6 separate regions of the Homo sapiens genome follow, and regions 1, 2, 3, 4 and 5 are each linked to region 6. Evidence: promoter capture Hi-C in 16 types of primary human blood cells and fetal thymus (Javierre and others, 2016). All regions are on one chromosome and are shown on one strand. The core of a region is centred on a gene start or on the middle of the fragment in contact, and the rest is flanking DNA. Distances in the headings are between cores, read along the strand shown.

The links. The method cuts DNA at HindIII sites, captures the fragments that hold promoters and counts their contacts. A CHiCAGO score of 5 or more calls a contact.
Region 1: a contact is called between a fragment that was not itself captured here and the fragment with the promoter of KRT20 in region 6, in 7 of 17 cell types (M0 macrophages, endothelial precursors, neutrophils and 4 more). The highest score is 8.8, in M0 macrophages.
Region 2: a contact is called between a fragment that was not itself captured here and the fragment with the promoter of KRT20 in region 6, in 17 of 17 cell types (M2 macrophages, naive B cells, naive CD4 T cells and 14 more). The highest score is 14.6, in M2 macrophages.
Region 3: a contact is called between a fragment that was not itself captured here and the fragment with the promoter of KRT20 in region 6, in 12 of 17 cell types (M2 macrophages, M0 macrophages, neutrophils and 9 more). The highest score is 11.5, in M2 macrophages.
Region 4: a fragment that was not itself captured here is called in contact with the fragment with the promoter of KRT20 in region 6 in 3 of 17 cell types (M1 macrophages, M2 macrophages and M0 macrophages); the score reaches 6.8 in M1 macrophages.
Region 5: a fragment that was not itself captured here is called in contact with the fragment with the promoter of KRT20 in region 6 in 8 of 17 cell types (M0 macrophages, endothelial precursors, M2 macrophages and 5 more); the score reaches 10.6 in M0 macrophages.

The regions. Positions count from the first base shown.
Region 1 is chr17:41,454,406-41,457,743 of GRCh38, reverse strand. No RefSeq gene overlaps it. Among named protein-coding and RNA genes, the nearest start is that of KRT32, 11 kb to the left of the region's middle. The HindIII fragment of the contact is 2,084 bases long and covers 765-2,848 here.
Region 2 is chr17:41,544,354-41,547,969 of GRCh38, reverse strand. No RefSeq gene overlaps it. Among named protein-coding and RNA genes, the nearest start is that of LINC00974, 8.3 kb to the left of the region's middle. RefSeq lists a cis regulatory region at 1-48. The HindIII fragment of the contact is 7,630 bases long and covers 1-3,616 here.
Region 3 is chr17:41,428,844-41,432,410 of GRCh38, reverse strand. No RefSeq gene overlaps it. Among named protein-coding and RNA genes, the nearest start is that of KRT37, 6.0 kb to the right of the region's middle. The HindIII fragment of the contact is 2,088 bases long and covers 1,248-3,335 here.
Region 4 is chr17:41,407,913-41,411,468 of GRCh38, reverse strand. It overlaps LOC100505782 (a long non-coding RNA gene), which reads right to left. Exons shown (of 3, transcript NR_040111.1): 2 at 1,152-3,048. It also overlaps the pseudogene KRT41P. Among named protein-coding and RNA genes, the nearest start is that of KRT31, 12 kb to the right of the region's middle. The HindIII fragment of the contact is 2,205 bases long and covers 733-2,937 here.
Region 5 is chr17:41,476,302-41,479,627 of GRCh38, reverse strand. It overlaps KRT35 (keratin 35), which reads left to right. Exons shown (of 7, transcript NM_002280.6): 3 at 125-281; 4 at 633-794; 5 at 1,142-1,267; 6 at 1,890-2,110; 7 at 2,425-2,918. The coding sequence ends at 2,572. Among named protein-coding and RNA genes, the nearest start is that of KRT35, 3.2 kb to the left of the region's middle. The HindIII fragment of the contact is 6,798 bases long and covers 1-3,326 here.
Region 6 is chr17:40,883,585-40,887,421 of GRCh38, reverse strand. It overlaps KRT20 (keratin 20), which reads left to right and starts at 2,180. Exons shown (of 8, transcript NM_019010.3): 1 at 2,180-2,626. The coding sequence starts at 2,237. The region is part of intron 1 of LOC105371777 (a long non-coding RNA gene); the gene reads right to left. The HindIII fragment of the contact is 977 bases long and covers 1,282-2,258 here.

The sequences.
Region 1 (3,338 bases), core at 557-3,056, 570 kb before region 6:
CATAACGACATGTGGCTGCATATACTGAAACATTCGGTATATGAATGTTTCATATACTGAATTGCACTGAGTTGCACTCGTCACACGTGGCTAAGTGGTAGTAAATAAGACAACACAGACATGGACTATTTCCAACACTGCAGAAAGTTCTACTGGACAGAGCTGTCTTAGACTGTCAGAACTAGAAGGAGCCTTCCAGATGATCTGGCTCAGCTTTCCCAGTTTTACAGAAGAGTCATCTCAGACCCAGGGAGGTGGACAGATGTGCTCACAGACACAACCAACAGGTGGAAATTGAAGCCAAGGGTTTTGACGCCAAGCCTCTTAGGTCTCTCCAAGCACTTTATGCTTTCTCCAAGCACCCTAGGTTTATTATTATTTCAGGCTAATACATATTTCCCCTCTCCTTTTCTTTCATTTCCCAAAGAAGGGAGACATTTTCTCTGAGAAGCTGAAACTTCTTCCTGGGAATATAGTTCTCTTAAAAAGCATCGCTAGCAACTACCAGACTCAGCATCTCCTCTTTCTTTGAGCACTGGGCTCAGTAAGAGCAAAGACCTTGAGCTGCAGCCCAGAGCCTCAGCAGGAATGATTGCACAGGAGTTGTGGGCCAGAAGTCCTGGACCCTGGACCCCCTGGGGACTTCCAGAGTCTCCGTTTCCCCAGTGCATATTGTTTCAGTCCAACTCGGTCCCCATTCCCACACCTGTGTGTCTCTCCCACTTGCCAAGACCTGTCTGACTCCCAAGATGACTGTTAAAGCTTTTTATATGAAACCAAGCCCCACAGCCCAGGGCCAGGAGTACCCTCCTCTGCTAGAAGTGAGGCCCATCATCTTCTGTGTCTGGATGGTACTTCAAGCCAGAGGTGTCACGAGCTACCCTCCTGCCTAGCCTGTCTCTTATTTGATGGATGAAGAAGCCGTGGGCATAGACTTTGGGAGATATTTATCCCCCACCAGCACCGGAATCTCCTGGGAACTGGACTCAGTGTACCACTCATGGAGATTCTCAGAGGAACTCTCTCCTCATATCAAAGCATTTGCATCTAATTAACTCTTTATAGGGGAAGAGTTTATAGGGAAATGTAGGCAGGACCCTGGTCAAGTCATAAAACCTCTGTCATATTTGATGTTTTGGAGAAACCCTCACAGGTATCAGGGATCCTCTCTGAGCGGGATTGGAAAAGAAAAGGGTGTGCTTTTTAAAGACACCACTTTCCCCAAGGCTATTCAAGAGTTTGGGCCTCACCCCTGCTGCTCACTGCCCTAGTGCAAAGCACCCTCTTCTGGGGGTGAGAGTGAGGGCCCATGGGCAGAACTGCCATTCAAGGAAGACTGGCCAGAGGGCGACAGCTTCCCGAAAGATCCAGGAGTTGGGTTTGGCATCTGGGAGTTGGGGCTGTGTGTGGACTCTGAATTGCACTGACTGAATCTTTCTTCACCACTATATTAGGAAACCTTTTAGAGAGTGATCAAAAAAAGAATATGCCTCTTCCAGGGTATAACCAGGAAAATCATTAATAATAAAACAATATTCTTTTTGTATTTCATAATTTTTTTTTCTTTTGGAGAGAGAGTCTCGCCCCGTAGCCCAGGCTGGAGTGCAGTGGCATGATCTTGGCTCACTGCAACCTCTGCCTCCTGGGTTCAAGTGATTCTTGTGCCTCAGCCTCCTGAGTAGCTAGGACCACAGGCACATGCCACCATGCCTGGCTAATTTTTGTATTTTTAGTAGAAATGGGGTTTCACCATGTTGGCCAGGCTGGTCTCGAACTCTTGACCTCAGGTGATTCACCCACCTTGGCCTTCCAAACTGCTGGGATTACAGGCGTGAGCCACTGCACCCGGCCTGTATTTCATAAAATGTAACACTTGAATGCAATGATATCAATTCGGCTAAACAGAAAGTTCCTAAGATCATTTGATGTCTATCTTTTTGCCCAACTGATCAAGACAAATTTGTATTTAAATAGCAGTGTCCCTTAATCATAATATGTAAACAAAGTCACCAATGAGCATCTAGGATTAATGGAGAAGATCAGTGCCTTTGGCTTCAGAAAAACTGGGCTAGACCCCCAGTTCTGCTGCTAATGTGCTGTGTGATTTTGGCAGAACTCTTAATCTCTATGCATCTCAGTCTTCTCCCCTTTAGAAATGGGAGTAATTCTACCTTTTTCACAGAGTTGTTGGGATATAGTACATATAAAAATGCCTGTCATGATGCCTGGCATATTGTAGGTGCCTGATGAATGTTGAGTAAAGAAAACATGCTTTGGCAACAAATTTCTCTTCTCTTCTGACTTTCCCCAATTACAATGGCAGCTGAGTCATATTTTGGAGCCATTCTGAAGCCCAAGTTTCAGAAACAACAACAGCAGCAGCAGCAGCAGCAACAACAACATATGGGTAGCTTTGCTTTGCTCTAAGAGCATTGGATGAACTTCCAGTCTTGGTGTAAATGCCCTGGTAGAGTGAAGGCCCTGGTGTCTGAGGCTCAGCGTCCAGTCCTGGAGTTCACCATCCATTCCCAGGTGCCCTCCCTCTGCCCAGCCCTCTGGCTCCAGAGCGGACTGAAGGTCTCCCACATGCTTAAGGGGTCCAATTTTTAAGCCTCATTCACTGTGCTGTGTGAAGCAGGGATGGCAACTACAGCTCACAGGTCAAACCCCACTGCTACTTGTTTTGGTAAATCAAGTTTTATTGGAGCATAGCCACACCCATTCATTTCCCTGTTGTCTATGTCTGCTTTGTGCTACAATGGCAGAGCTAAGTAGTTGCAGTACAAAGAGAGTATACGACTTGCAAAGCCTAAAATATTTAGCATCTGTCTTTTTAACAGAAAAAGCTTGTCCATCTTGGTGCAGAGGAAACAGAATGTGCTAGGGGCCCTGGGACCAGTCCTGGCTCTGTATCTGACTTGCTTGGCATCCCTGGGGAGCTCACTGTCCTTCTCTGGTCTCTGAAGCACGAAAGGTTGAATTAGTACTTGGAAGTTTTCTTTAGTTCTAATAACTTAGCAGTCTTTGCTCTATTGCTCTTTAGGGATTCCTGAGGCTCTTATCAGAGAATTTTACTTTTTTGGGTATTGAAGGTCAGTGGAGAGGACGATTCATCTTAGAGCCAATGCCATTCCTAGAGAGAGGCCAGATAGTCACTCAAGGAACAAAGTCTAACTTTTCAATGGGGCATCTCTAAAGAGAAAACATTTAACATTTCTTTTCACAACAGAAGGCAGTAACAAGAAGTCCAAAGTCAGCCCTTTCTTTCATAAAGTGGGGAGCTACTTCTGAGGACTGAATAACTGCTGATGGGTTGTTCTGATGGCAGAACAAATGAG
Region 2 (3,616 bases), core at 805-3,304, 660 kb before region 6:
TGCCAGTCCCACTTGCCCAGCCTCTGCGCTGCCCGGAGCTCCCTAGGGGTGAGGGTGGGCAGGAGAAATGTGTCCTGGGACCTGTCAGCATGTGGGTCTGTGTGGGGAGAGACGGGGTGAGGGTCTGGCTGCTTTTTTGTCCTGCTCACAGCCTCTCCTGGTCAGTGCCAACGCCCTTCTTCCTGCCTGTGTGCTGGGGATGGGGAGTGCCCCTCCCAGCCAGCCATCATCTAAGACAGACAGACCGAAGCAGTGTTCACACATCTACCAGGCGTGTTGCACCTGGCTGTCCACGTAGATGATCAGCCACATCTGCATCCACCAGGGGCCCCACAGAATATGACGGACTCTCAGGGTTGACCGAGTGTAGAAAGGGAACTATTTCTGGAGGTGTGGACAGGAGCAGCAGGGATCAGACAGCCCAGAGCAGAGCAGTGGGAAGCGGAGGGATGGGAAAAGGGAGTTTGAGGGGGTGTGGCCAGGGGAGGGCTGCCCTGCAGGAGCCTTAGAGCGAGCAGCTGCAGCCAGAACCGTGGCTGGGCAAGGAGAGGTGGGGGGATAGATACACAGGCCCCTTTCTTCCTGTTCTCCATCTTCCGCTGCTGCCTACTGATGGATGGCTGATTCCAATGGGGCAGTTGGAGGGAAGGGAGCCAGTGACACAGGGATCATCCTTCCAGGTACAGAGCAGGACAGAGGAAGGTGGAGAGTAGATCTAAGGATCCAGGGAGAATTATCAGCCCAACCAGTGGTTGGGCAAGGGGGCACAAATATGAGCCAGACCCCAGCCTCAAGGAGCTCACTGGCTGGTAGAGGGGATAAGAGCCAATGAATTCTCACCCATATAGGAAGAGGACAGTGCCTGGGAGAGGGTCAGGTAAAGCACCAGAGGGGCTCAGAGGAGGAAGAGCGAGTGCCAGGGATCACAAAGGCCTGAAGGAAGAGGTGATGTATGAGTTCCACGTTGCTGCTGTAACAAGTGGTGGCAAACTCAGTGGCTTAAAACAACACAAACTTACTATCTTCTAGGCCTGGAAGTCAGAAATCTGAAATGGGCCTTATGGGCTAAAATCAAGGTGTCATCAGAAATGCTTTTTTTCTAGGGGCTCTACGGGAGAGTCTGTCTCCTGGCCTCTTCCAGCCTCCAGGGGCTGCCTGCCTTCCTTGGCTTGTGGGATCTTCCTCCTTCAAAGTGCCTCACTTTGACCTCTGCTTCCATGGTCCCAGCTCCTCTCTGTGACCTTGACCATCTCGCCTCTCTCTTACAAGGACCCTTGTGATTACTTTGGACTCAATCGGATAATCCAGGATAACCCAACCCCCATTCCAAGATCCTTAATGTAATCACATCTGCAAAGTCTCTTTCTGCCATGGAAGGTACATGCTCACAGGTTCCGATTGGCGTATCTTTGGAGGGCCATTATTCTGTCTACTCCAGGCAATGGTGAAGAGGCACAGTTTCAACCTGTGACGGCTGAGGGGAAGGACCCTGCAGGTGGATAGGATAGCCTGAGTAGAAGCAGGCATTTGAGAACCTAAGCACTATTGGCCAGCACCTGTGAGTAATTGCAGGAAGACTGTGATTTTGGGGGACAGGGCTGGAAAGCCAGCCTGGACATGGCCAGTGCCTTGCTCCATTTCCAAATAAATGCAGTTGGCCTCTGAGGCTTAGTGGCAACCGTCAGTGCCTGTGGCATGGCGGGGCTGGCGGGGGGCCTCCTGGATGTGAGGTGAGCCTTGCTGTTCAGTGTCCATCCCTCCCCGACCCACACTTCTCCAGGCCCAGCACGGCTTTATTCAGGACCTGCATGGTGAGTCGGACCCTCGCAGTTGTCCCCTCCGTGAGGCCCTCCATTGGCCCGTCTCTTATCCACCCACACCCCCACTGCCAACAGGCCCGCAGGCAGCACTTGTCCCCTCCCCTGCCTTCCCCAGCCTCCAGGCCTCCAACTCTCCCAGTGTTACGCCTCCAACACACTGAACTGCTCCCTCCCTGAACTCCCCGCATTGTCTCACCTGGCCAGGCCATTTCCCACAGCTTTCCCTGTGCCAGAAACACCCACCACCCGAGCCCTTTTCTTCCCACTCCTCATTCTTCAAATCTCAGCTTTTTGGAAGAACACTTTCCCCTTCCCTCCACCCCACCGCACAGGGAGCAGTGAGCGACTCCCACAAAAATCTTTTTTTTTTTTTTTGAGACAAGGTCTCACTCTGTCACCCAGGCTGGAGTGCAGTGGTGTGATCATGGCTCACTGCAGCCTCAACCTCCTGGGCTCAGGTAATCCTTCCACCTCAGCCTCCCGAGTAGCTGGAACTACAGGCACATACCACCATGCCCTGATCATTTTTTGTAGAGATGTTACCTAGGCTGATCTTGAACTCTTGGACTCAAGCAGTCTACCTGCCTCGACCTCCCAAAGTGCTGAGATTATAGGTGTGAGCCACTGTGCCTATCCTCTCACAAAATCTTTTATAAAAACCCATACCTGGCCAGGTATGGTGGCTCATACCTGTAACCTCAGCACTTTGGGAGGCCGAGGCAGGCAGATTGCTTAAGCCCAGGAGTTCAAGACCAGCCTGGGCAACATAGCAAGAACAGGTCTCTTAAAAAAAAAATTGGCCCAGGCATGGTAGTGCATGTTTGTAGCCCTAGCTACTGAGGAGGCTGAGGCAGGAGGATCACTTGAGCCCAGGAGTTTGAGGCTGCAATGAGCTAGGATTGCGCCACTGCACTCTACCCTGGGTGACAGAGCAAGACCCCATCTCAACAAACAAAAAACCCAAAAAACAGAACAGAAAGCTCCTCCCAGCCCACACCTGCTGAGTGGTTGTCCCCTGCGGTGATGACTGACACATGCCATTTAACCTTCATGTTGCTGGTAATAGCTCTTGATTTTATGGAGTGCCAGATACTGTGCTTCACACCTGATTTTTCATTTATTCCCCCACAAGCCCTCTGAGGTTGGTGTTATTAGCCTCATTTCAGAGGCGGGGACACTGAGGTTCTGACAGGTGAGGTAACGGCCGTTGCATGACATGGCTTTGAAATAAAATGGTGGCTCTGTGAATCAAACCCAGGCCACCCTGGCTCCAAGGCCTGGGCTCTAAACCACATGCCACACTGGTGTGATTATGGTCCATGTTTTATAGGGGAGGAAACTGGAGCTTAGGGAGGTGAATACCTGGGCCTGGCTAATGAGTGGCTCTCACCCCAAGGCGTGGCTCTTTTCAAAGGCCAGGCCTGTCACTGCCTTGCTACATGGTCACTGATTAATCTTGCCTGCTACGCTATACTGCTGGGCCTCTCTTTTGTAGCTATTTGTGTAGATCTTTCCCTCCCCCATTCTCCCCTCTCCCATCTGCTGGGAGCTTGTTGGGGGCTGGGCCTGAGTCTGTTTCGTCTCTGAATTCTGCATGTGGCATAGGGCCTGGCTCAGAGCCCACGCACAGCACACGAGTGAATGAGGGAATGAATGGTGTTTCCTGGGCATGGCTTTGGGAAAAGCAAGAAACTGCTCAGAGTGCCCATCGGCAGCCAGTAGATCCAGAGAGGCTGAGGCTGTGAGCTCCTGCAGGGCCCAGGCCTGGGGTCCCAGCACCACCTCAAACTTCTTGG
Region 3 (3,567 bases), core at 1,042-3,541, 540 kb before region 6:
AAAAAAAAAAAAAAAAAAGCATTTGTAATTTTAACAGATACTGCTGAACTATTTTGTAAAGAGGTTGCACAACTTATTCTTCCCCTCAACAGTGTATGAAAGTGCATGTTTTCTTTATTTTGCTACAATCATGACATTAATCTATTTTGTTTTATTTTACTTTATCATAGAAAGAACACCTAACATGAGAGCTACCCTCTTAATAAAATTTTAGGTGTACAATAAATTACTATGGACTCTGGGTACAATGCAGTACAGTAGATCTCTAGGCCTTACACATCTTGCTTGACTGGAACTTTATGTTCATTGAACAGTAACTTTCCATTTCCCCTTTTCCCACAGCCTCTGGAAACCACCATTCCACTCTTTGATTCTATGAATTTGCCTATTTTAAATACCTTGTATAAGCAGAATTATGCAGTATTTGTCTTTCTGTGATCGGCTTATTTCATTTAGCATAATGTCTTCAGGGTTGAATCTATTTTAGATACCTCATATAAGCAGAATCATGCAGTATTTGTCTTTCTGTGATTGGCTTATTTTATTTAGCATAACGTCTTCGAGGTTTATTCACGTTGCGTATTGCAGAATTTCGTCCTTTTTAAAGGCTGAATGGAATTCCAGTGTTTGCACATACCAATTTCTTTTTGTATTTATCTGTCAACGGACATTTAGGTAGTTTCCACATTCTGGCTATTGTGACTCCTGCTGCAATGACCACAGGAGTGTTAACATCTCTTTGAGATCCCAATTTCAATTCTTTTGGATAAATACCCTGAAGTGAGATTGTTGGCTCATATGGTAATTCTATTTTTAATTCTTTGAGGAATCTCCATACTGTTTTCCATAGTGGCTGCGTCATTTTGCATTTTCCCAACAGCGTGCAATGGTTCCAGCTCCTCTATATCCTCACCAATACTAGTTGTCTTTTTTTTTTTTTGATAGTAGCCATCCTGAGTGGTGTGAAGTGATGTCTCATGGCTTTGATCTGCATTTCCCTTATGGCTAGTGACTTTGAGCATTTTTTCATATACCTGATGGCCGTTTGTACGTCTACTTTAGAGAAATGTCTATAGAAATCCTTAGCCCATTTTTAAATTAAAAAAAATTATTTTTTACAGTTGAGTTGTAGGACTTCCTTATATATTTTGGAGGCTAACCCTTTATCAGATATATGATTTACAATTCTTTCTCCCATTCAGTAGGTTGTATTTTCACTCTGTTGTTTCTTTTGCTGTGCAAAAGCTTTTTAGTAAGACTAAACTTCTGATCTTTGCTAACTTAAATAAGTAAAAAATAAGTAATTTAATAAGCATTTTTGAATTATGAATGGTGTAAGCATGTAAACACACCAGTAACAGTAAAATCCATTAAAAAACACAACACTTATTTAGTGCTTACCATGTACTCTGTGCTAGACACTATTTTACGTGATTTACAGGTATGGATTTTTTTAAAACTTAAATCCATTAGCTAGGTGCTATTGTCACTCCATTGTGCATAAGCAGAATTTGAGGCACAGAGAGGTCAAGTCACCAGCCCAAGTTCACACAGCTAATAAATGATAGAACCAGAATCTGAACCCAGGCAGGCTGGATCCAAAATTCATTGTCTTAAACCTCTACTATGCTGCATTAAAGGATTTTGTAATAGGTCTTGGTATGAGGTAAATAAGGGGAAATTTCCTGCCTTAGCATGTAGATAAAGAAACTCTAGGATCAGGGAACAAAGGGGAGGGGAAATGAAGATAACTTTTTCAGTATTTAGTCTCTGATGACCTTAAGACCTGGGATAAGAATAAAGCAAACTAGGCAGGGCGCTGTGGCTCACTCCTGTAATCCCAGCACTTTGGGAGGCCGAGGTGGGTGGATCACCTGAGGTCAGGAGTCGGAGACCAGCCTGGCTAACATGGTGAAACTCCATCTCTGCTAAAAATACAAAAAATTAGCCGGACGTGGTGGCGTACGCCTGTAATCCCAGCTATTCAGGAGGCGGAGGCAGGAGAATCTCTTGAATCCAGGAGACGGAGGTTGCAGTGAGCCAAGATCAGACCACTGCTCTCCAGCTTGGGCAACAAGAGCAAAACTCCATCTAAAAAGAAAAGAAAAACAAAAAAAGAATAAAGCAGAATAATAATTTAAAAATACTTAAAATCAAACCAAAGTTTCCCAAGTAACTAGATTTTAAAATCCTATTTAATAGAAAAGAAAACGGTGACTTTTTTTTTTTTTTCAAAGCCTTCTGAGGTGGACTTTTGAAATGATAAAGGTGTTTTGGGTTATCCTTCCTCAGACTCTGTTTTCACCCAGCATGTCTGAGAGCCTTGCAGGCACAGTGGTATCAGGACACACTGCTGGTCGTGGTTTGCAGATGTTTTCCTGGCGTAATTCACATCAGGATGCAGTGTGTGGGCAGCTCCTGTTTCCTTAGGTGTCTTCAGAATTTTTCCTCTGCAGCTGGAGCAGGTGGTTGCAGATTAGACTCACACCCTGTGGACCGCCCAGTGCCTCTGCTTCTGTCTCACTCAGAGATGCGTCAGAACGGTCAGACTCAGAGATGCGTCTGCACCGTGGCACCAAGTGATGCTGTTCTGAACCCAGTGTTTCCCCTCTGCCTGAAGAGAGATTACAGCTCAAAATCTTTTAATCCTCAAGAGAGAAGAGGTGGCCCCTGTGAAGGAAGGAGGGCTGCAGGACTACCTCTGTCTTCTCTCTTCATCTCTGATACCTCCCTTCATGCAACTTGGAATATATGTTTATTTTCAGGGGCCAGAAACTCTTTTTAAAGAGGAGCAAGAGGGCCGGGCACGGTGGCTCATGCCTGTAATCCCAGCACTTTGGGAGGCTGAGGTGGGTGGATCACGAGGTCAGGAGTTCAAGACCAGTCTGGCCAACATGGTGAAACCCCATCTCTACTAAAAATACAAAAATTAGCTGGGTGTGGTGGCGGGTGCCTGTAATCCCAGCTACTAAGGAGGCTGAGGCAGGAGAATCGTTTGAACCCGGGAGGTGGAGGTCGTAGTGAGCCGAGATCATGCCATTGCATTGCATTGCACTGCAGCCTGGGTAATAGGGCGAGACTCTGTCTCAAAAAAAAAAAAAAAAGGGAGGAAGAGGAGGCTCATCTGATCATCTGCAATGTCAAGGATGGGCTCCTTCCCACCTACACAGCTGAGTACATCCCAGACACCTGCCTCATGCCTTCCACCTACTGCCTGTTCCTTTGAGACCAAAGAAAATCAGAAGAGCCCTCTGCTGTACGAAGGACTAGGCAGTGTCTATGTCATTATGCAAAATGGACCATGCAGAGCCCAAGCCAGAGACACATATCAAGCTTTGGAGAGGTGTGTCAGGACGCAAAGGATGCAAAGCTTCAGCTGTGATGCTTAAGAATTAACAAGTGTCATATGTTCTGAGACAGAAGGAACCATGATTTTAGCCAATGGGATAAAATCCTGCCAGAGGATAGGGTCAAGAGAGGGTTCCTATTTAGCAAATCAAAGGGAAGAATTTTAATGCTTCAATTCTCTGGATTATAGTGATGCTATGTGTTGAGGCGGAAGATAGG
Region 4 (3,556 bases), core at 586-3,085, 520 kb before region 6:
AGCTGGAGTGGGACAATGCAGAACTGGAGACCAAACTCCATGAGAGGAGCAAGTGCCACGAGTCCAGCGTGTGCCGAAACTACCAGTCCTACTTCTGCACCATCCAGGAGCTCCAGCAGAAGGTGAGGTTTGCGGTGCACCAGATCAGGGGTCAGGAATCTGCTTACTGCCTGTCGGCCAAATCCGGCCCACCACCTGCTTTTGCAAATAAAGTTTTATTGGTTCATGGCCATGCTCATGCATTTGTATGTTGTCTGCAGCTGCTTTTGTACTACAGTGGCAGAGTTCAGTCATTGTAATGGAGACTGTAGGGTCTGCAAAGCCTAAAGTATTTACTATCTGACCCTTTACAAAAAAAGATTACTGACCCTGGGTCAGCAGTGGATTTTTTTTTTCTTTTAATGTGGGAAGAGAATCTCTTGAGTGAAGGTGAATGGGAATTTGTAAAGGATGAGATGTAGAATTTATCACTCTAGGATTCTGAGTTCATGCTTACTTAACTTCAGCACATAAAATTCCTAAATCGTAGTCACAAAAATCATGCTATTTTCATGAAAACCATGCAAAAACCGTGCTGAGTTTATGAAAGTTGCAGTATACTGAAACTTCTGGTGCAGTAAACAGGGCAAAAGGAATATTTCCTAACATCCTTGCCAAGGCAGTGTCTATCCACACAACAGCATCAACCTCTTATGCATATCTATTGTCACCTTTGATTATCCAGTTAAAGCTTCTGAAGAGCCTACATCTTAGTTTTGGAGACAAGAAGACAAGGAATGTCAAAATAGGGGTTACAGAAACCTGGCTAGATTCAGAGAAGACCTGTGGGGAGGTTGGACAACCAGAGGAAAGATCTTCTTTAGAACAGATCCTACTTTATCTAAAACATTCATAGCCAGTCCTCTGTTCTGTGGCCTAGTTTTTTTTTTTTTTTTTTTGAGACAAAGTCTCGCTCTGTCACCCAGGCTGGAGTGCAGTGGTGCAATCTCAGCTCACTGCAAACTCTGCCTCCCAGGTTCAAGTGATTCTCATGTCTCAGCTTCCTGAGTAGCTGGGATTACAAGTGTGCGCCACCACTCCTAGCTAACTTTTATATTTTTAGTAGAGATGGTGTTTCACCATGTTGCCCAGGCTGGTCTTGAACTCCTGACCTCAGGTGATCCATCTGCCTTGGTCTCCCAAAGTGCGGGGATTACAGGCATGAGCCACTGCGTCCGGCCAGATCTTCTTATTTATATTGGGCTAAGCATCATATCTGGCAAAATGAAAGCAAGTCTTTGTTATATGTTCAGTTTGCTACTGTCTTCCATCTCCTGGTTCCTTTGACTCTATGTCTTCATCCTTTTCCAAGAAGTCTCTTGCACATCTTCCTTCCCACACCACAAAAGCATCTCTTGCACGTTTGGGAGTTTGTGTTGTCCAGGCGGATGCTGTAGGTTCAACTTCAGCCAATAAAACTTCCTCTCACCTGAGGCTATAGGTGTCTCTGGGATCAGTAAGTCACTTACTGAGCCTACTTTCTTACCCCAGATTCTGTGCACCAAATCGGAGAACAATAGGCTGGTTGTGCAAATAGACAATGCCAAATTGGCTGCAGATGACTTCAGGACCAAGTGAGTTGGGGTTGGACAGGGATGGGAAGGAGCCAAGTGAGAGTTGGGGTTGGATGGGGATGGGACAATGCCAAGTTGGCTGCTTCTGTCTCATGTGGCATCGGATGTCATTGACCCAGACCCCAACCCAGTAGTTATAGCAGAAGAGAACAAAGGGCATTAAGCTCAAGATCCTGAAAAACTATCCGCTCTCCAGTGGTTTAGCATTAACAGTTTACAACATGTGCTAGAATGCATCATCCACCTGGTAAGCAACTTGTGAAGCAGGCGGGCAGGGATAGAATCTCCTCCACAGGTGGGGACCCTGAGGCTTGGGGTGCTGGTGTGACTTGCCAGAAGCCATGTGGGTACCGAGTGGCAGAGCTGGGACTTGGCCTTAAATTTTGTACCAAATTTTCCTTTCTTGAAGCAATTTCCTGTGAAACTGTTGCCTTAATAAGGATATGTTTCTGTGCTGCAGCTTGATTAATTTGTGAGTGCTGATAATTCATAGCAGAAATCATGCTCCATAGCCTAAGATGAAAACATGTGAAAGTCAAAGGGTTGACACCACCTGAGGAGGGTCTACCCTGGGTGCTGGAAGGGCATTGTGTTTTATCATCTTTCTTCGGGGCACTGTGCAAGTCTCACTCTTCTAGAGCTAAAGAAAGCCATTTCCTTCCTCTCATGCTGGCAATGTGGCTTTTACTCTAATAGGGAATCCAGGGTCCCTTTGGGTATGGGGCTTGTAGAGAGGGGCCTGCAGTGATTGCACTGTGTTGCAAATGCCTGGTTACTTTGCCACCTCCCTTTTGGGCCATTGTGTGTAAAGGCAGGTGCTGGCTGTGTGTCCATCACAGTATCCTCAGTACCAGCTGCTCCCCTTGGTTCATCTCAGGTGCTTAGTATTGACTGAGTGGGGAACATCCTGTTGCTTTCTGGGCTTTGAGCACACTACACAGGATAAGCCAACTCACAATTAGATGGCAAAGGGCAGGCCAGTGGACTTACAGCTGCGAGCTGGGAGTCATGTCCTGGTGCCCCTTCCTGCCCTCTAACTGTCACTCCTGCACTTTCCCTGTTACAGGTACGAGAGAGAGCGCTCGCTGCAACAGCTGGTGGAGGCTGACATCTGTGGCCTGCGCAGGGTGCTAGACAACCTCACCCTCGCCAAGTGTGACCTGGAGGCCCAGCTGGAGTCCCTGAAGGAGGAGCTGCTTTGCCTCAAGAAGAACCATGAGCAGGTGTGTGACCCTTGGTGTGATGCATTGAGACTTTCTGGAGGTGAATTCAGGCTCATCTGGGGGGAAAAAACGGAGGCTTCCTTCTGCTTGGGATTGAAGCTTTGCAGGTGAGCTCTGGCTTTTGGTGGGAGATTGCTTCTCATCCACAGCTTCTGGAAGCTGCTAGGCTGGTGCAGGCAGCGGTTTATCTTCAGAGGAGCACAGGGAAATTACTGGGGAGGATGGAAAGTGGGAGTTGAGAGTTTGGGTGAAGGGCAGTTGGGGGCCCTGCAGGCGGGTCATACTCCTCTGATGCCTACAGGAAGCCCACACTCTAAGGGGTCAGCTGGGAGACAAGCTCCGGATAGAGCTGGACATTGAGCCCACCATTGACCTGAGTAGAGTTCTGGGGGAGACGTGAGGCCAGTACGAGGCCATGGTGGAGACCAATCGCCAGGATGTGGAGCAGTGGTTCCAAGCCCAGGTGAGGGGGACTGCTAAGCAGTGGGGATTGGCCTCCATCTGGGCAGGTAGGTGACCATGTTTCTCTATGCTCCAGTCTGAAGGCATCAGCCTGCAGGCCATGTCCTGCTCTGAGGAGCTGCAGTGCTGCCAGTCAGAGATCCTGGAGTTGAGACGCTCGGTGAACGCCCTGGAGGTGGAGCTTCAGGCTCAGCACACACTGGTGAGTCCCTCTGCACGCATGGGAGACCCAGCTTGGCTCCCACTACCCATGAGTAG
Region 5 (3,326 bases), core at 796-3,295, 590 kb before region 6:
TTTGGCTGTACTCTGTCATTGGGGCATAAAAGCAGGACTCACAGCACCTGGACAGTCTGAGGGCAGGCCTGACTTAGATGCAAAAAGGAAATGCAGACTCAGGTGCCCTGTTCTATGCCTGCAGGTATGAGACGGAGGTGTCCCTGCGGCAGCTGGTGGAGTCAGACATCAACGGCCTGCGCAGGATCCTGGATGACCTGACCCTGTGCAAGTCTGACCTGGAGGCCCAGGTGGAGTCCCTGAAGGAGGAGCTGCTCTGCCTGAAGAAGAACCATGAGGAGGTGAGCATGGGGGAAAAGGTGAACACGGCACAGCAGGTGAGCATGGGGGAGGAGGTGAACATGGGGAGGAGGTGAGCATTGGGGATGAGGTGAGCATAGGGGGAGGTGAACATGAGGGAGCAGGTGTGCATAGGGAAGAGGAGGTGAGCATGGGGAGCAGGTGAGCATAGAGAGCAGGTGAGCATGCAGAGGAGGTGAGCATGGGGAGGAGGTGGGCATGGGGAGCAGATGAGCATGGGGAGGAGGTGAGCATTAGGAGGGGTGAGCATGGGGAGGAGGTGAACATGAGGAGGAGGTGAACCTTGGAGGCAGCCCTCTGGGAATTAGTACTCATCCTGGTCTGTGCTATAGGAAGTGAACTCACTGCGCTGCCAACTTGGTGACCGCCTCAATGTTGAGGTGGACGCTGCCCCACCTGTTGACCTGAACCGAGTTCTGGAGGAGATGAGGTGCCAGTATGAAACCCTGGTGGAGAATAACCGCCGGGATGCTGAAGACTGGTTGGACACCCAGGTAGGTACCTGGAAACAGTCAGTGCAACAGGGGTATGTGGTGGCTCACATGGAAGTGACCCTGGGGCTCTGAATCAAGAAATCTAACTTTGAGTCCCATCTCTGTTTTGACCTTGCTGACAAGGTCAAAACAGACCCACTTCAATTGACCTTGCTGACAAGGTCAAAACAGACCCACTTGGGCAGGTTGCTGTCCTCTGAGCAACAATGCCCTCCAGTATAAAATAAATGAGTGGGACTGGGGAATCGGGAATGTCTTTCTTGGCTCATGATTCTAACCGGCCTCTGTAGCTCTCTGAAGCCAAGTCCCTGGTGTGGCTGACCAGGTTCTGTGTGTGTATGTTTCAGAGTGAGGAGCTGAACCAGCAGGTGGTGTCCAGCTCAGAGCAGTTGCAGTCCTGCCAGGCAGAGATCATCGAGCTGAGACGCACGGTCAACGCCCTGGAGATTGAGCTGCAGGCTCAGCACAGCATGGTGAGCCCCAAGGCAGGGTGGAGCTGCCTCTGGACCAAGCCGAGGAGCACACAAGCTCCCCAGCTTCCATGCTTTGACCACACAGGCGGACTCCAGGGGTCCATGTTCTTGAGCACCAGGGGTTCTCTATGCAGAAAAGAGGGAATGAGGGACCAGCTCCAGTCACAAATCCCCCAGTGGTAAAGGACAAGAGACCTGTAGCAACTGACATGTCCAGGCAGTAGGTCCTATATTTGTGCAAGCAGATACATCTTCTGAGTAACTATCAGTTACTCAGAGATGACACTAACAGGGAGATACTTTCTAGATCAAAGAAGCCACAGGGGCTAATTAGCTCATCTCAAGTGAGATGTCTGATTGTGGTTCATCCTAGCTCAAACTCTGATTCTCCGAGCTTCTGTTCTTGGATTCTGAGGCCTCACTGAGACCCAGATTCCTTCCTTGCTCCTTCTCTGACCTCTAGCCTTTTTCCTCCCTACACAACTCTTGACCTCACAGAGAGATGCTTTGGAATCCACCCTGGCAGAGACGGAGGCCCGCTATAGCTCCAAGGAAGATTCCTTCCTTGCTCCTTCTCTGACCTCTAGCCTTTTTCCTCCCTACACAACTCTTGCCCTCACAGAGAGATGCTTTGGAATCCACCCTGGCAGAGACGGAGGCCCGCTATAGCTCCCAGCTGGCCCAGATGCAGTGCATGATCACCAACGTGGAGGCCCAGCTGGCCGAGATCCGGGCTGACCTGGAGCGGCAGAACCAGGAGTACCAGGTGCTGCTGGACGTCCGGGCCCGGCTGGAGTGTGAGATCAACACGTACCGGGGCCTGCTGGAGAGTGAGGACAGCAAGTGAGTATCACTGCATGTGCTCTTGTCTTCTCACTGCAATCTACCAAGTTCTGGGAAGACAGCATGGTGCCTAGAAAGAGCCTGGCATTCGGAGTCTGGAGTTCTGTTCTCTTAGTTCTGGTCTTCCTGAAAACTCATCACGTGACTCCAGCAAGCCCCCTTTCCTCTCAGGGCCTGTTTCCCTTTTGGTAAAACAAGGGGGCAGGATCAAGGTGGTTTTTAGGGTGCTTCCCAGTTTGCATAGTCTAGGATCTACTTTGAGTTACTGCAAACAGCAACTGGAAAATCACAGTAATTTGTTTTCTTTTTTCTAGGCTCCCCTGTAACCCATGTGCACCTGACTACTCACCCTCCAAGTCATGCCTTCCCTGTCTTCCTGCGGCCTCCTGCGGTCCTAGTGCAGCCCGCACAAACTGCAGCCCCCGCCCCATTTGTGTGCCCTGCCCAGGGGGTCGGTTCTGAGAGCGGGTGACCCAGATGGCCATGGCTATTGTCTCCAGGGCTTGAACTTGGCCTCTACCCAAACTTAACCCTTGTAGCCCAATCCCCTCTCTTCGCGCAGAGCCCAGGCCCAGGGTCTGGCTGAAAAGGCTTTCTGCAAATACATGCCCTAAAGTTTCTCAGAGCCTGTCACAAAGGCCGGCTGCCCCCAAAGGTCTCAACTCCTCATCATTTCAATGGGTGCCAGGGTCTCTGTTCTCAGGCTGCCTCCTGGGTCAGGTTTTCCTTCTAGGTGCTGTTCCGGTGGATTCTGAAATGCAGTAGAGGGCTTTTGTTGGCAGAACAATAAAGTGCATTTGCTCAGGCCCCTGATGCCTAACTTGCACCATTCTGGTGTTGTTGGCTTGTGTCTCTGCTGTGTCCAGGGGGTGACTGTTGGGCAGCCGAATGGGAGATGTGTGACCAAGTATGACCCTTTGGATGACAGGGTCACTATGCCCCTGTTTGGGGTGGGTAGAGGCCTACAGTGAGAGCTTTTGCTTGGCTTCCCTGATGAAGACCTTTCTCCAAGATTCCAGTGTGGTGCCAGGTGTTTTCAGACTGCTGTGGAATCCCTCTTAGTATACGTGGTCACCTGGGGATCCCAGAGTGGGAGGGACAAAACTGAGATGGAAACTGAGATCAGCATAACAGGGAGGGTTTTAGGCCACTTTATCAGCCTCTTGTCTGTGGTCCTTGTAAGACCGGCGATAGGGTGTCTCCCTCCCAGGGTACT
Region 6 (3,837 bases), core at 931-3,430:
CTCAAAATAAAAATAAAATGGAAAATAACTAAAAATGGGATTTTCAACTCTTTGATATAAATAGGTCCAGCCATAAGGAAGAATTGTGCTACAAAAGAGAACAAAAATCATCATGTTTAACAACTGCATTCATGTTCTTTTCTAATTATAAAGCTAACTATTGATTTTATAATGCTTCTACACACCTTGATCATGTGTTAGCATATGAAACTCTTAGCTGAGACCAACTTACTATAAAACTTGTGTAATTTAAATAGTATAATTTTCCAATGACTTTAATCTAACAACCTCCTACCCCATTAATCAACACCAAAAACAATTCATCTTTGAATACATGTATAAAGAACATAGTTCATGTGTTTATAAAAAGTTCTTCTCTGCTACAGAGTTTAGCTGTGACATCTATTAACAAAGTAATTTATAACTCTAATAAGTTAGCAAGGTCTTCTTGCTACCAGTCCAGTCATTGGTGGTGAGTACTCAGTATTGGCTGATGAATACATGAATGGATAAAAATATAAGAGCTGCCCACACATATACCATAAAATGCATAAAATAGATTCCATTTTATCTCAATTTTTATTTCTGTGATATAACTAAGATAAAATCAAACACAATGTATTATTTTAAAGTATACTGTTTATAAGAGAGAAATAATATGATCTGACCTTATTTTAGAAGAAAGTTGTGTGTAAAAGAAATTTAAACTCAAAAGTAAAAAAGCCACTGGTTTCTAAAAACTCAAAAAAAATTTTTTTTAAGTGACTGGCTTTCAGAACAACAGCAACAACAAATAAGCCACTAAAATAAGACAATTAAATTCCAATTTTTTTTGCATTTACTTGCTTGCTTAATTATATACAAATCTCAATTCCATTAAAGTATCAGGATGACAATTAATTAGATGTTTTTAGTGACTTTTCCAATCCCTTCTAATTAACTTGGAAGTGATTAACTGATTATCTAATTATATTAATTAGTGATTATCTAATTAACTAAGGAAGTGATTTACATGCTTCATGGGAAGTGTGAATTCTCAGCCAGGGGGTTTGAATGAAGGGAAGCAAGTGACTCAGGCATTTATTGGTTGCTTACAATCAGATTCCCACCGATGAGATCATGCCCATGTGTCTAGAGGTCCACACACAAGCAGCTGCCTCCAGCCCAACCCTGGAAGCTGAGTGTAGTCCCAAGTCCCCGCCTGCACCCCTTCCTATATAAACAGCCACTCTCGCTGTGATTATGGGGGCATACAAGGAAGATCAGGCTTCCATGGAAGCTTCTGCAACTGAAATCCACTGGGGACTTTAGAAGGAGCACCTGTAAGTAGCTTCAGGATGGATGGGGCAGAGTCTGTCTCATGGTGGGTGTTAAGCTGGCCTCATACAAAAGAGGAGACCCATCCTGATACCATGCCAGGTACAAAGCACTGTGTGATTTATTCTAAGTGTCTTGGTAACAGGACTTGAAGCCAGGTGGTGACTGGAAACCTAAAATGCAATATTTAGTCATAGAACATTAGAAATAGAAAGAAAATAACCTCCCAAATCATCTAATCCATCACTCAGCTAAATTCATTTAATTCACATCCCCAAACTACATCTCCAAATGTACAATGGTTTCATTCCTGGTTTAGGGATTCGAGGTTTTGTGTTTGTACAAAATATTTTAATAGTCTTATAAAATAAGATGTCCAAAACACAATAAACTTAAAAGCCAAACACAAGCAAAGCATGAAACAGAGGTTCTGAAGAGCAACTCCTCAATACAAATCAAACATTGTCCTTTATCTCCATTGTGACTTTCAGTTATGTAGGCACATCTGCCTTTTTAGATACCTAAATTATACATGAGGATTGTAAATATTCTTTGTGTGTATGTTAGGATGAAAAAAACCTGCCAAGGCAGGCGCATGGGCTAAAAGAATACACTTTCCTGTTTCCTTTTATTACCTGTTTAATTAAAAAAAAAAAAAAGTTGCCCCTGATAAAAGCCTCCAAGAAATGCCTCTAGTGGTATTTTCTGGAATTGAATTAAGCATATTAACATATTGCTATACAAAGCGGGGGGCGTGGAAGTAAGGCAAGGTGGACTGTGGTGCCAATCCTAGTGACATGTCAGCAGAGGAGGAGTTTCTTGCCTGTGGACTTCATAAAAGGCTAGCTCAACACCCTCCATGAGACACACTCTGCCCCAACCATCCTGAAGCTACAGGTGCTCCCTCCTGGAATCTCCAATGGATTTCAGTCGCAGAAGCTTCCACAGAAGCCTGAGCTCCTCCTTGCAGGCCCCTGTAGTCAGTACAGTGGGCATGCAGCGCCTCGGGACGACACCCAGCGTTTATGGGGGTGCTGGAGGCCGGGGCATCCGCATCTCCAACTCCAGACACACGGTGAACTATGGGAGCGATCTCACAGGCGGCGGGGACCTGTTTGTTGGCAATGAGAAAATGGCCATGCAGAACCTAAATGACCGTCTAGCGAGCTACCTAGAAAAGGTGCGGACCCTGGAGCAGTCCAACTCCAAACTTGAAGTGCAAATCAAGCAGTGGTACGAAACCAACGCCCCGAGGGCTGGTCGCGACTACAGTGCATATTACAGACAAATTGAAGAGCTGCGAAGTCAGGTGAGAGATGATGCTTGTGTTTCCTACTCTGTGTTTAGCTTCAAGATAAATCAAGAGGTTATCTATGTTAGGTAGGTCCAAATGGACTTTGTAAAGCAAATTAGGCTAAAATGTTACATCTATAAAAATTCTTTCATCTACCTTTAGTGCTGGAGTACCTGACTGTACAACAGGATGACCTTAAATCATGCTATTTTTAATGTTTAACACAATTACATACAAAATATGAACATTTTATCCTCCGGAATAAAATGAATCTTTGTCACAGCTTATCACATCAGGGCTAAATGTATAGTGAACAATCTTTCTGAAAAGAGCTAAAAATTAATTACGTGATAAATCTCTCTTAGTTTTTCACCTAGTCCTTATCAAGTTTTGAAACCCCAGTAAATTCAAAGACTTTTCTCCTTTTATTTAAGTAAATGTTATAATATGACTATTAGAATACTGTACTGCAGATTTAAATAGCAAAGTGATTCTGGGTGGAAACAGTGTGGCAGGAATATGGGTCTTAATGATGCCTGGATTTTTAAGTGCCCTGTTTAATAACATGACCATCAGCATCAAGCAGTTCAGAAACTACTTCTACAGTAATAAAATGTTCTATTGCCCCCAATTCATGTTTATTACAATCATATCACAACCTCCTCCTATGTCATCAAAAAAAGGGTGGAGCTCTGTATTTTATCAGTTTCATGGAATAAAAGCAGAAGACTTTGCTCCTAATTGAAAATTTCAGATATGACACAGAGCACTTGCTTCAAATTAAAGTTCTTATCTAATTAAGAAAAGTGTTCACTGTAATTTGTGTTAAGATTCATACTCCTTTAGAGCAAAGCGCATTTACTTACCAGCAAGTCTGTTTTTCTTGAGTTGTACTAAACATCAGGGCAATTTGATTCGGACTCCATGGGAAGTTACTTTGGAATTTTAGAAACTATGGGCATGTGAAGCAATGGCATTTAAATAGCCCTTCCGGAATAAAGTTCATCCTTCGCAAGCTCTCACTAAAAATGTTCGAACCACACCTGTCTCGTGTTTCTGACTCTAGTTTGGTTCATCTGAAATACACAGGCACAGGCCATCCGTCCCATTGAGCTGGACAGTCCCAACCATAGGAAGCAGCCCTCTCCAAAACTGGGTCCATTGAAAGAGAAATGTCATTGTAACATCTTCTGCAAGTAGATTTTTCATCTATATGCCTCCATCAT